4 separate regions of the Homo sapiens genome follow, and regions 1, 3 and 4 are each linked to region 2. Evidence: promoter capture Hi-C in 16 types of primary human blood cells and fetal thymus (Javierre and others, 2016). All regions are on one chromosome and are shown on one strand. The core of a region is centred on a gene start or on the middle of the fragment in contact, and the rest is flanking DNA. Distances in the headings are between cores, read along the strand shown.

Region 1 (2,770 bases), core at 223-2,722, 810 kb after region 2:
ATCTATGATATAGATATTTGTAGAAGGAAAACAAGCCCCTAGAGATTAAGAATTGTTTCTAAAATCACCAAGCATTGGCAGGGCTCAGAAACAAATTATTTACTGGGAACTGCTCTTAGAGTTACATTTACCAAGGCTAATTAGCAATTACTTATGCAGTGTGTTGTGACACCTTAGTTTCTATTATTGCTATTTTTAAAATGTATTTACAAATACAATACTGGTTTTTGCATCCCCCTTTCAGGGTTATACAAACAATAGGCTCTAATATAGTTGCTAAGTTCAATTTACAAGAAAAATAAAAATACCAACATGCCTCTTTCCCTCTCCACTTCTTCATGTGAACTCCTATGTCACTGAGATGACCATAACATCTCTTCTACATTAAAAGTTTTCAATGAGTCTTTTAGAGAAAAGGATAGGATGTGAGTTTTCTCAAAAGGAAAATATCCCACATTTCATAATAAAAGTCCACAGGAAATAGGAATCCTTTAACATAAATGAACAGTTACTAGCATAAATAATCTGAACTCTCTTTTTTTTTGAGATGGAGTTTCGCTCTTGTTGCCCAGGCTGGAGTGCAATGGCATGATCTCAGCTCACCCCAACCTCCGCCTCCCGAGTTCAAGCGATTCTCCTGCCTCAGCCTCCCAAGTAGCTGGGATTATAGGCATGCGTCACCACACCTGGCTAATTTTGTATTTTTTGGTAGAGACGGGGTTTCTCCATGTTGGTCAGGCTGGTCTCTAACTCCCGACCTCAGGTGATCCACCCGCCTCGGCCTCCCAAAGTGCTGGGATTACAGGCGTGAGCCCCCATGCCCAGCCAACAATCTGAACTCTCTAATAATACATACCTGGAAAAATCTAAGTTTCACTAACTTCCAAAGAGCTACACACCAAAGGGCTTCTTTCAGGTCACTTGCTGACAATACTATTTTATAAATAAGTCTGTACATGCTAAAGTTGACAAGAGGGAAAAAGGTTCTTCCTGAAAGTAGTGACATGCTGTTCTCTGTTGCTGAAAACAAAGAACGTACAGTGTGAAGTACATCTGCAAAGCAGAAAGTTCTTACCAGAAAAGTAGCTCTCTCAAAAAGAAGTACTTCATCAGCTTCGATAATTTCAGCAAAATTCCTTAGGTTCATTTCCAGCTGCTGAACATTGGGAATCAGCTGATAAACTATGCTGGACCAAGCCTAACAGAACAGAAACACAGTGTACTATTATTAACAGCTAGTCAGTCCCAGACCTTTGAAATTAGTAAGTACACTATAATATGTGGACAGCAAAATATGATGATAATCCAGTCCCAAACAAATACTGACATTAAATATGATATAACACAAATGAAATGAGAAAATGAAGCTAGCATCTGATTTTTACCCTTGAGTTGAATTTTTTTTAAGTTCAAACACTTTTGTAAAATGCTGGAGAAACTTCTTTCCATTGATAATTGAAAGCAAACAAATATTTAATGCCATCATGTTGCCTTAGGAAAAAAGTTGAAAAATATGATCTACTTTGTTAAAAAGCTCCTAATCTAGTCACAAATATTTAAGTCCAACAGTGTAGATTTCTCTAAAGATCAGAACCTAATTATGCTATATTTAACATATACCTAAGAATCAATTTTATGAAAGTAGCAGAGCCACATAGACAAATGGCCCCTCCCCTCAATAGAATAATATACCATTAAAAGAGAAACTAGTGGCATTATCATTCCCAAAGGTTTGTTGTTATCCATATAAATTATTGATCCAATTGAATTCAAAATGGTCTACTGTGTTTTTGCCTAAAACTGACTTCATCCAGGAGTATGACTAATGTAAGCAGTTGAAATTAACCACACTCTCCCTCTATTCTTGTAGGCTCTTTTATTTGTATTTTCATTATAATACTTCCTTCACTCTCACTCCAATTTGTCTGGTAAGGTGTACTTTGTTCTTCTCTCCCCTACAAGAGGGCAGGAACCTGGTCTTAGTCATTTGTGTATCCAACAGCATCAAGCAGGTATGTAAAGAGTGCTTGTTGAATAAAACTTAATATAAAAATTTAAGTTAGCTCTATGCAACATTGATGTAAGAGACAGAAGTGCCATGTCTCTGTTCCAATTAGTTTTATTACTTAGGCATGAGGGTTCAGGTTCCAAGTTCCCAGGTCGGTGTTAATGTCACTGCTGAATTTACCTTGGAGAAGGCACCAAAGCTAACCACAGCAGAGACATTGTCACTCACAGCAGTGTTGTGATTAGCCAATTGTCTTTGGTCGTGTTATGTATTGCCATCCTTCACACCGCAGTTGGTTCTTATCAGTGCGTCATGTCCATCCTTATTCACGGTTACCTGTTCTATGGGAATAAGGCTTTGAGAGAAATTCGGCCCATATTAATCTAGAACAGTATTTCCTAGACAGGTATCTCAAAATGATCTGTTATTAGAGTGAGGCTGGGTCAACATAATATTGGGGAAAATGAATTAGTTAAAAAAAAAAAAAGCAATGGCTATTTAAAAGTCCAATGGTTTTTCTCCTTGCCACATCAGGTTTCTGTGCTTCTGGTTGTAGATACTTGTCAGATGCTGTTGATACTGAGGCTGTAGCTACCAGTGACAGAGAAGGGTGCTTTCCTACCCAGAGTCAGACTTGTCAATGGATACCAGAAGCAGTCTGAAGGGAAGGGCTAACTACAGAAGGATCCAAAAGGACCTAGTCCTTCAAATAACTAGATCAGTAGGAGAAAGGGAGGAATCAGAATAAGGAGCCTATGTGCC
Region 2 (2,700 bases), core at 1-2,500:
TCGTGCTGGTAGTTGCAGAACTCTGGGTAGCTGGCGGTGGTGCCCATGGATTGGGTAGTGGATCGCGATTTTCTGTGCGGGAAGGCTGCGTACCTTCCCCAGAGGAGGAACTACTCCCCACGGAGGCAAATGGATTACCCCCAAACTGCTCTTGTGCGGCATTCAGCATCGGCTCTTGAATGTCAGTGTACATGCGCCGTAAAGCATTATAGCCACCTGGGATGCTTTCTAGATTGCTAAGAGCCAGGTCTTGATTTCTCATCATCTCTTGCATCATGGCTGGATTCCTGGCAATTTCGAGTGTCTGCCTCATTATGTCTGGGTTGTTGAGCAGGTGACTGATTTCTGGGTTTCTCTGAATCAATTGCTGCATCTGTGGATTAGCCATAATGAGCTGCCTCATCAGATCGGGATTCGAAAGCATGCTCTGAACAAAGGGATTTTCCATTATTTGGATCATCATCTCAGGGCTGGCCATAAGCTGCTGCTGCATCTGGCTCTGGAGCTCAGAGAAGTTGGTCGAGCTCAAGCCCAGGCTGCTAAGGCCTGCAAGTCCTCCCAGGCTCCCCAACCCAAACGGGTTGCTATTTGTGGAAATAGGTGTGGAGTTACTCCTGGGAGTCGACGCCGAGGTAGTGTTAGTTCCCGCGGCATTGCTAGGCTGCGTGGACTGGCCCTGAGGTCGGTTCTGGCTTTTGATGACAAGGTGAACAGTCAGCCCATCATGGATGCCATGCTGGATCAAGGTATCTTGATCTTTTAAGATTTTTCCGGCAAAAATCAGCACTAGCTGATCGGTTTGGGATTTGAAGCGTTTCGAAATCGCTTCCTTAAACTGCTGAACCGAGCTGTTCTCGGGCACCGCGAACTCCTCTTTCTCTTTGGGAGTCTTCACCGTGACTTTGATGATTTTAGGCTCAGCCGGGGCAGCAGCCGAGCCTTGGGCCGCAGCAGGGCCGCGGGAGGGGCGCGGGGGGCCGCTGCTCTCGCCATTCTCAGCCATGGCGGCCGCGGTGACGCAGGCGGGCAGGGAAGGCGCGGGCGGGCGAAAGAGAGAGCGCGAGGGAAGGAGGAAGGAAGGAGGCACCGCCGCAGCGGGCTGGGCCGGGTCAGGCGGGGAGCGCGGAGCACGGTACCTCTGTGATGAAGACTGCGGTTCCCTGGTCCTCCGGTGGAGAAAGGCCTGGGCGTAGGCCGCTGGCTGAGGTCTCCGCGCTCCGGTCTCTGGGCCTCCTCCGCCGCCGCCTTGTGATCCGACCGCGCGCACTCCCAGCAACTCTGGCAGCCGCTCCGCCTGCTGATCCCCGCCCCTTCCCCTCCCCCAGTTCCGCGCTCGCCTCCCCGCCCCCTCTGCTGACGCGGCGCCAGGCCTAGATTGATAGATTTGGCTCGGTCAAAATTAAAAACTTCTGCACTGAAAAGAAAAAAGGGAGAGAGAGAAACAAAGGGAGAGAGAGAAGAGAACAGAACAGTACAGAGCAGGCGAGGCAGAGAGGGTGAGACGGAGAGAAGGAGGCGGTAGAGAGTCAGCTTCTGTAAACGACATTAAAAGACCAATGGAGAATGTATATTAGCAATCTGTAAGGCAGTAAAAGGGTGAAAGCCTGAATCGAACAGATCCCACGTATAAGACGAAAAATGAATAATAAAGAACTCTGACAAAGCAAAAAGAAAAGAGGAACACCTCCAGTAGGGGAAGGGAAGAAGACAGAGCAGGAGCGTGCATTTTACAAAAGGAGTGCAAATGGCCAATAGACATTAAAAAAGGATGATTAATTTCACTACTAATAAAAAGAAATCAAGTTAAAACAATAAAATTCTACTTTTGGCTTATCATATTGGCAGGGAAAAAAATAATGGTAAACCTTCTTGTTGACAGGGACCCTAAAAAATGCCCTCTCAGGCTAGCTGAAGTGTGAATTGTTACAACCATAGGGCAATTTGAAAATATATATCAGCATTTTGAATGTTTCCACCTTTATTTAGAAATGCCTAACCTAGACACTTCGCCTAATAATCGGATGAGGATGCAAAAATATTTATGTATAAAATGTATATACATTGTAGCATTTTAAAATGTTATTTAAATATATTAACTATCTGTTTACATGAGATTAGTTGAGCACATTATCATATTACCATACAAGAAAATATAGAGTGTCTTTAAAGGTATACATGAAATAAACTGTAGTTATAGGGAAATCACAGAGTATTTTCAATTATGCCTTTGTATATTTCTGTACAGTTACAAACTATATAAGAATATATGTTCCAATATCAAAAATACAATAAATATATTTTTATTTTAAAAGCAATTTTTGAACAGTTTGTTGTATATGTAAACCGTATGTGTAAAAAAATCTGGAAGGCTATGCACAAATAAGTTAATGGCTGTTAGTACTGTTTGCTGAAATTATGAATAATTCTTATTTTCTATTTTCATAAGATTTTGAATTTTCTGATGATTTTTGTAAGTATGCACTACAGAAAGGTATTTTGGGGAAGAGTATGGGTAGAAATTGACAGGCACATAATAGTAGTGGCAAACATTGACATATTTACCTAATTTAATTACAGATTAAGTAAGAGCAATAAAGATGTAGCAATGCTGAGAAAGAGAACTTGAAAAATAGAAGAAATAATTTCAAATTTATCTATATATTTCTAACTCTAGGTTAAACCACACAGAAAATTCTTCCC
Region 3 (2,957 bases), core at 184-2,683, 720 kb before region 2:
AATCCAAATCCTAGATCCAGCACTCATTATGTTTTTGACCTTGAACAAATCACTTAATGTCCCTAGGTGTGTTTTCTCATCTGTAAAGTAGAATAACAGCTGCCATATGGTGTTATGAAGATTAAATCACATATGGATGTAAAGCTTCTGTTTTTTTTTTACAATCTTAAATATTTTAATTTTATATTAATAGTTAGACCATGTTAAGTATATTGCCATTGTTGGCAACATATCACCAGAACATTTTTATCTTGCAAAATGAATACATACTATACATGAATCGACTACCTGTTTTCCCCATTGACTGGCCCTTTACAAATGCCATTCTATTTTCTCTTTTTAAAAGTGCAACTACTTTAGCTAACTCGTATAAGTGGATTCATACTTTTTATGATGGACTTATTACACTTATCATAAGACCATTAAGATTTATCTTTAAAATAAATGTTAAATTTCCTGCTTTTTAAAAGCTGAATAATATTCCAGGTTTTGTTGTTGTTGTTGTTGTTGTTGTTGTTTTGTTTTGTTATGATATGGTGTCTCATTCTGTCGCCCAGGCTGGAGCGCCACTGGAGTGCAGTGGCACCATCTTGGCTCATTGCAACCTTTGCCTCCCGGGTTCAAGTGATTCTCCTGCCTCAGCCTTCCAAGTAGCTGGTATTATAAGCACCCACCACCATGCCCAGATTGCAGGCTTTCTTCCCGGGCACGCCGCAGGATAAGGCCCATTAGCTTGGGACACTAACAAGGCTACCCCAGCCCTGCCTGAGTTCTCAGGCTGGAAGCAGCTCCACACTTCCCTGGGACAGAGCTCCCAGAGGGAGCAGGCAAGCTGACGTTTTTCCACGCTCATGTTCTCATCAGGCTCTGGAGGTAGTATAGAAGTTGGGGACTGACGCGAACCCACAGCACAGCGCAGTCACCTTAAAGGAAAAGCGGCCAGACTGTTTTCACGTGTGTCCCCACCTCCGCTGCTCTTCACTGAGCAGTGCCTCTTGACCTGGGCCCCAAGCACAATCACTCTGCTTCCACATAAACACTTTACTCGGTAGCAGCTCTGCGTTTCTGAGGAGGAAATCCCAGAGACAACCCACAGCTTCTCTGCCATTGCAGCTGCAGTGGTACTGTTCTGCTGCATTCAGGCCAGGGAATAAAACAAAAGGTCGAGTTGCTACACTGGAGCCTCCAGCACGCTGCAGCCACCATACAGAGAGGAGCCCAGTCTCTCTTCCATGTAGGCTCCCACCCCACACTCTTCACCAAGCAGGGCCCCAAGCCTGGATCTACACAGACGTCCCACCCTTGGCAGAGCATTCCCTCTGCTAGTGGCTTTGTATTTCCCTGGGGGAGGGGCTCCCAGAGGCAACTGACAGCCCCTCTGCCACTGCCATTGCAGTGGTTCTTCCCCTGCTGCCCTCAGGCTGGAGAAGAAATGAAGATCCTGAGGGCTTTACTCACATTTCTAGCAAGACACAGTCACCATACAAAGAAGAGCCCACTCTCTCCTCCCTGTTATCCCTCGAACCCCGACTCTTCCCCAAGCGGGGTCCCCACCTCAGGCCAACAGCACAGTTGCCTCACCCCCTGGCTGAACATCCCCAGTAGCAGTGACTCTGTGTTTTTTTCTGAGATGGAGGTCCCAGAGACAACCAAAAGCCTTTCTGCCCCTGCCACTGCAATGGTAGTGCCCTTGCTGCCCTCAGACTGGGAAAGAAGCAAAGACGCACAGTGCTTTAACCACACCTCCAGAAAGCCACAGCCACCATAAGGAGAAGAGGCTGGTCTGTTCCCTCCGCAATCCCCTTCCCATCCCCAGGCAGGTTCCCATGGCTTGGGCCAAAAACGCAGCTGCCCCACCCTTGACTGATTGCACCAGTTGATATCCGCTCTGAATTTCTCTAGGGTAGAGCACCAAAAGACACGGGAAAGACCCTCTGCCATAGCCACTGCCAAGGTCTTGTCCCCTGCTGCCTCAAAAGTGGGGAAGGAAAATAAAGATGAGCTCACCACAAGGTTGTGCTGTACAGCTCGCAAGTGCCAAACAGAGGTCTACAGACAGCACTTCTGTGGGAGAGGAGCCTACACTTTCAGAACAGTAACAGAAAATTTGATGGCAATCATGAGGAAATACAGGCGAGCCACATGGCTAAGCAAGAGCGTACCTATTAACCATTACATTTAAGCACCATCTAGTGGATTACAACCAAATTTCAACACCGAAAATACTGTTAATATATCCCCCAGTGAAACCAAGGACAAGAACTAAGCTACAAATAAAGATCCTGCAAAAATGCTTAGACTGCTGAAAACATTCAGAAAAGAAGTCAACTGATTATACTCATATTACACTACAGTTGAAGGAACATCAACCCACACAGAAAGAATGAAACCATCAACGGAGTAAACAGACAACCTACAGAATGGGGGAAATATTCACAAACATCAAACAAAGATCTAATATCCACAATCTCTAAGAAACTTAACAAGCAATAAACAAATAACCCCATTAAAAAGTGAGCAAGAAACATAAACAGACACTTCTGAAAAGAAGACATACAAGTGGCCAAAAAACATTAAAAAAATGCTCATCATCACTAATCGTCAGAGAAATGTAAATCAAAACCACGAAGAGATACCATCTCACATAGTCAGAATGGCTATTATTAAAATGTCAAAAAACTAACACATGCTGGTGAGGTTGTACAGAAAAGGGAAAGCTTATACACTGCTATAGGCGATATAAGTTAGTTCAACCATTGTGGAAGGCATTTTGTTTATTTCTCAAAGAACTGAAAGAAGAATTACCATTTGACCAAGCAATCTCATTACTGGGTATACACACAAAGGAATATAAATTGTTCGACCACAAAAATACATGCATCTGTATGTTCTTTGCAGCCCTATTCACAATAACAAAGACATGTAATCAACCGAAATGCCCATCAACATTAGACTGG
Region 4 (2,700 bases), core at 118-2,617, 550 kb before region 2:
AAGAAGAAAGACTGACAGAGGGATTGGGAATACAGGAAAAGAGTTGTGGGGTGTGGGGCCCATGAGAGATCGGAAGGCCCAGGAAAATGTTGGACTTCTGGTAGTGTCCACATTGCTCTTCCTGGCTCTATGCACAAAGGAAGTGGCATCTGTCAAAGATGCCAGATACATTGGAGGTTCCCTAGAAGGGCATTCTGACAAGGATGACTCAGTAAGGTTAATCAGGAGGAAAGTTTATACCCGTAAGGCTTTTCCTGTTTCAGGGAGTTCAGGACGCTCCTACCCAGCAGAACCCCAACCCTCAGCCTGAACACACTAACACGGTTCCCCACATGTGCTGGGCTGCGGGCTGCCTCCTCACATTTGTCCTGCGCTAGATAAACAATATTGGTAGAGGATGGGTTAGTGGGTCAGAACTTAAGAGATGTGCCATCTTGCATTTGGAAAGTACTTTACCCAGAAAAAAATGGAACCTTACTGAACTCAGGTACAGCAGTCTCATCACACCGGTTCCTTCTGCTGGAATGTTTGTTTTCTATCTAGAGACGAGGGGCATCAGAAGATTGAGCCTAGTGTTTCTCTCCAGGTTATGGGGAGTTCCTGACTGTCCACACTTCTTTCAGCAGCTGCCTGAAACCACAGGTGGTTCCGACAAATAATCCACTAAAAGAGGCCTGCTGTCCCAAGAATCCACATTCTGGTTAGACCTTCCCCACAAAGCTGGTGTCTGCAGACCCCTCACAGGCACCTGTTGGCCAGTCTTGCCTACCCCAGCTCACAGAGACCTGTGATGGAATTCTGGTCAGCTCTTTGTTTCCAGGTGAGGCAGATGCCATGGGGCAGTTGGGCTGGGAGTTGTGACTTGGTATAACTAACTCATTCAGCTGTATAATGTCACAAAAAAGGGTCAAGGCTGGTGGGGAGAGGGAGCAGCAACCCACAAAAAGTCCCTCAGAACTATGGTGTCTGATGCAAAGATAGATCTGTGTCTTTCTCTTCCTCCCCTCCTTGCCTTTCCCAAGTCTTTCTCCTGTAGCCCATCTGAAAACCCTCTCACTGCTTTCTGCAACCACACCGTTCACTAAATTATACCTCTGACCCCAAGAAAGAGTGCTGGTGACTCCCTGCTGCCCAGGTTACCCTAACTCCATGCATAGTGGGAGATGCAAGGAGCTTCCAGGAGTTGAAAGAAGGTGGTAAATAGAGTTTATTCTCTCCACCCAACATGGCCTGAGGCTGACTGCCTCAAGAATTACACAAGGCAAGCCTACCTCACCGTAGCAAGGATTAATTTTCTTGTGTACATCACACAATTTCGTCCAACAAAATCCAGCAAGGTGCCCAGGAACCAGTCTCAGACAGCTGCCAGGTTATTTTCATCTTTGTGTTTTTATTGTTTTCTATTTTTAATTAGGTACTTTAGACATTTGAGAGATTTCACACGATGAAAATTTATGTCTCTGGCATCTCCTGAAATTGAAACAGAATGACAACAACAACAAAAATGTGAGGATCAGGGCCCTCATTCCAAAAAGGATACATGCAGCTGGGCCTTAGGTAGGTCTCAGTCCAGTTTAGACTCCGAATACCCTCTCCAGTTGGCCACACCCCCAGCTGGCCTGCTTTACTCTAATAAAATGCACAGTCGTTCCCTGGAAGCGTTTGCACTTGTAACTGGGGCCACACCCTGGAAAAACTGCCCCTTTGACTTGCTTTGATCCCATTTGCTTTTTAATTTACTTGTTTTATCTTTACCCCACAAATACTTACTTCAGGTGGGCTCTCTGCCAGGCACTCTTCTAGGCACAGATACTGATAATGTAATAATGAACAAAAAAGCAAACTAAAATTCTTATCCTCATGGAGGTTTCATTTTAGTGTGGGGGACAGACAGTAGCCAAAATAAGTAAGCAATTATAATGTATTTTCATAGTGTCTAGTGTTAAATAGAAAAACATAAAGCAAGGAATTGGGATAGAAAATTTCAGGAGGGAAGCTGAAACTAGATAGACAAGGTATCCAGGGAAGGCCTCACTGAGAACTTGGCTTTTGAGTCTCACCTGAAGGCAATGGGAGAACTGACCCTGTAGCTGTCTGGGGAAGGAGCATTCCAGATGGAGGGACAGCACGTGCTGAGGCCCCAAGACAGGTTTAGGCCTGGCATGTTTGAGGAGCAAGGAGGATGTTATCATGTCTGGAGCTGAGTGAACAAGGCAGAGAAAAGCAGGAGGTGGTTTCAGAGATGTAATGGGGATGAGGGAGAGAGGCAGACAGCTTATAGCCCTGTAGGTTTCAAAATGCAATTTGGCTTTTACATTGAGTGTGATGCAGAGCCATCCATGTATTTATAGTGGAGGGCATACAAGATTTGTCTTAGTTTTACAGGATCACTCTGACAACTTGCAGAATAGTTTTTATTAGTATATGATGAATAAAGGGAGAATAATTAGTAGGCTATTCCAATTATGTAGATTACAGATAATGGTGGGTTTCAGTACCCTGATGGTAGTAGACATGGTGAAAATTAGTTGGGTCTGGCTGTTTTCAGGTATACCCTGCATGTTTTCCTATTTGATAATGCTGTGCAGTGGAAGATAAATATGAGTCCAGTACAACACCACATTTTCTGGTCTTCTTTTGAAGATTTTCTTAAGAGAAACAAATTCCCAGTGAAAACCATACATGACAAGTTGGTCTCTG

What was found. Contacts are between HindIII fragments. The CHiCAGO score rates a contact against its expected background, and 5 or more counts as called.
Region 1: a contact is called between a fragment that was not itself captured here and the fragment with the promoter of UBQLN2 in region 2, in 1 of 17 cell types (naive B cells). The highest score is 5.1, in naive B cells.
Region 3: a fragment that was not itself captured here is called in contact with the fragment with the promoter of UBQLN2 in region 2 in 1 of 17 cell types (non-activated CD4 T cells); the score reaches 6.8 in non-activated CD4 T cells.
Region 4: a fragment that was not itself captured here is called in contact with the fragment with the promoter of UBQLN2 in region 2 in 1 of 17 cell types (non-activated CD4 T cells); the score reaches 5.3 in non-activated CD4 T cells.

What each region holds. Positions count from the first base shown.
Region 1 is chrX:55,751,820-55,754,589 of GRCh38, reverse strand. It overlaps RRAGB (Ras related GTP binding B), which reads right to left. Exons shown (of 10, transcript NM_006064.5): 7 at 1,076-1,198. Among named protein-coding and RNA genes, the nearest start is that of RRAGB, 35 kb to the right of the region's middle. The HindIII fragment of the contact is 4,544 bases long and covers 1-2,770 here.
Region 2 is chrX:56,562,177-56,564,876 of GRCh38, reverse strand. It overlaps UBQLN2 (ubiquilin 2), which reads right to left and starts at 1,250. Exons shown (of 1, transcript NM_013444.4): 1 at 1-1,250. The coding sequence starts at 1,003. RefSeq lists enhancers at 254-313, 324-523, 920-1,547. The HindIII fragment of the contact is 11,191 bases long and covers 1-2,700 here.
Region 3 is chrX:57,281,958-57,284,914 of GRCh38, reverse strand. It overlaps a transcript of FAAH2 not described here. Among named protein-coding and RNA genes, the nearest start is that of FAAH2, 3.3 kb to the left of the region's middle. The HindIII fragment of the contact is 2,573 bases long and covers 147-2,719 here.
Region 4 is chrX:57,116,692-57,119,391 of GRCh38, reverse strand. No RefSeq gene overlaps it. Among named protein-coding and RNA genes, the nearest start is that of SPIN2B, 3.5 kb to the left of the region's middle. RefSeq lists an enhancer at 899-2,098. The HindIII fragment of the contact is 3,477 bases long and covers 1-2,700 here.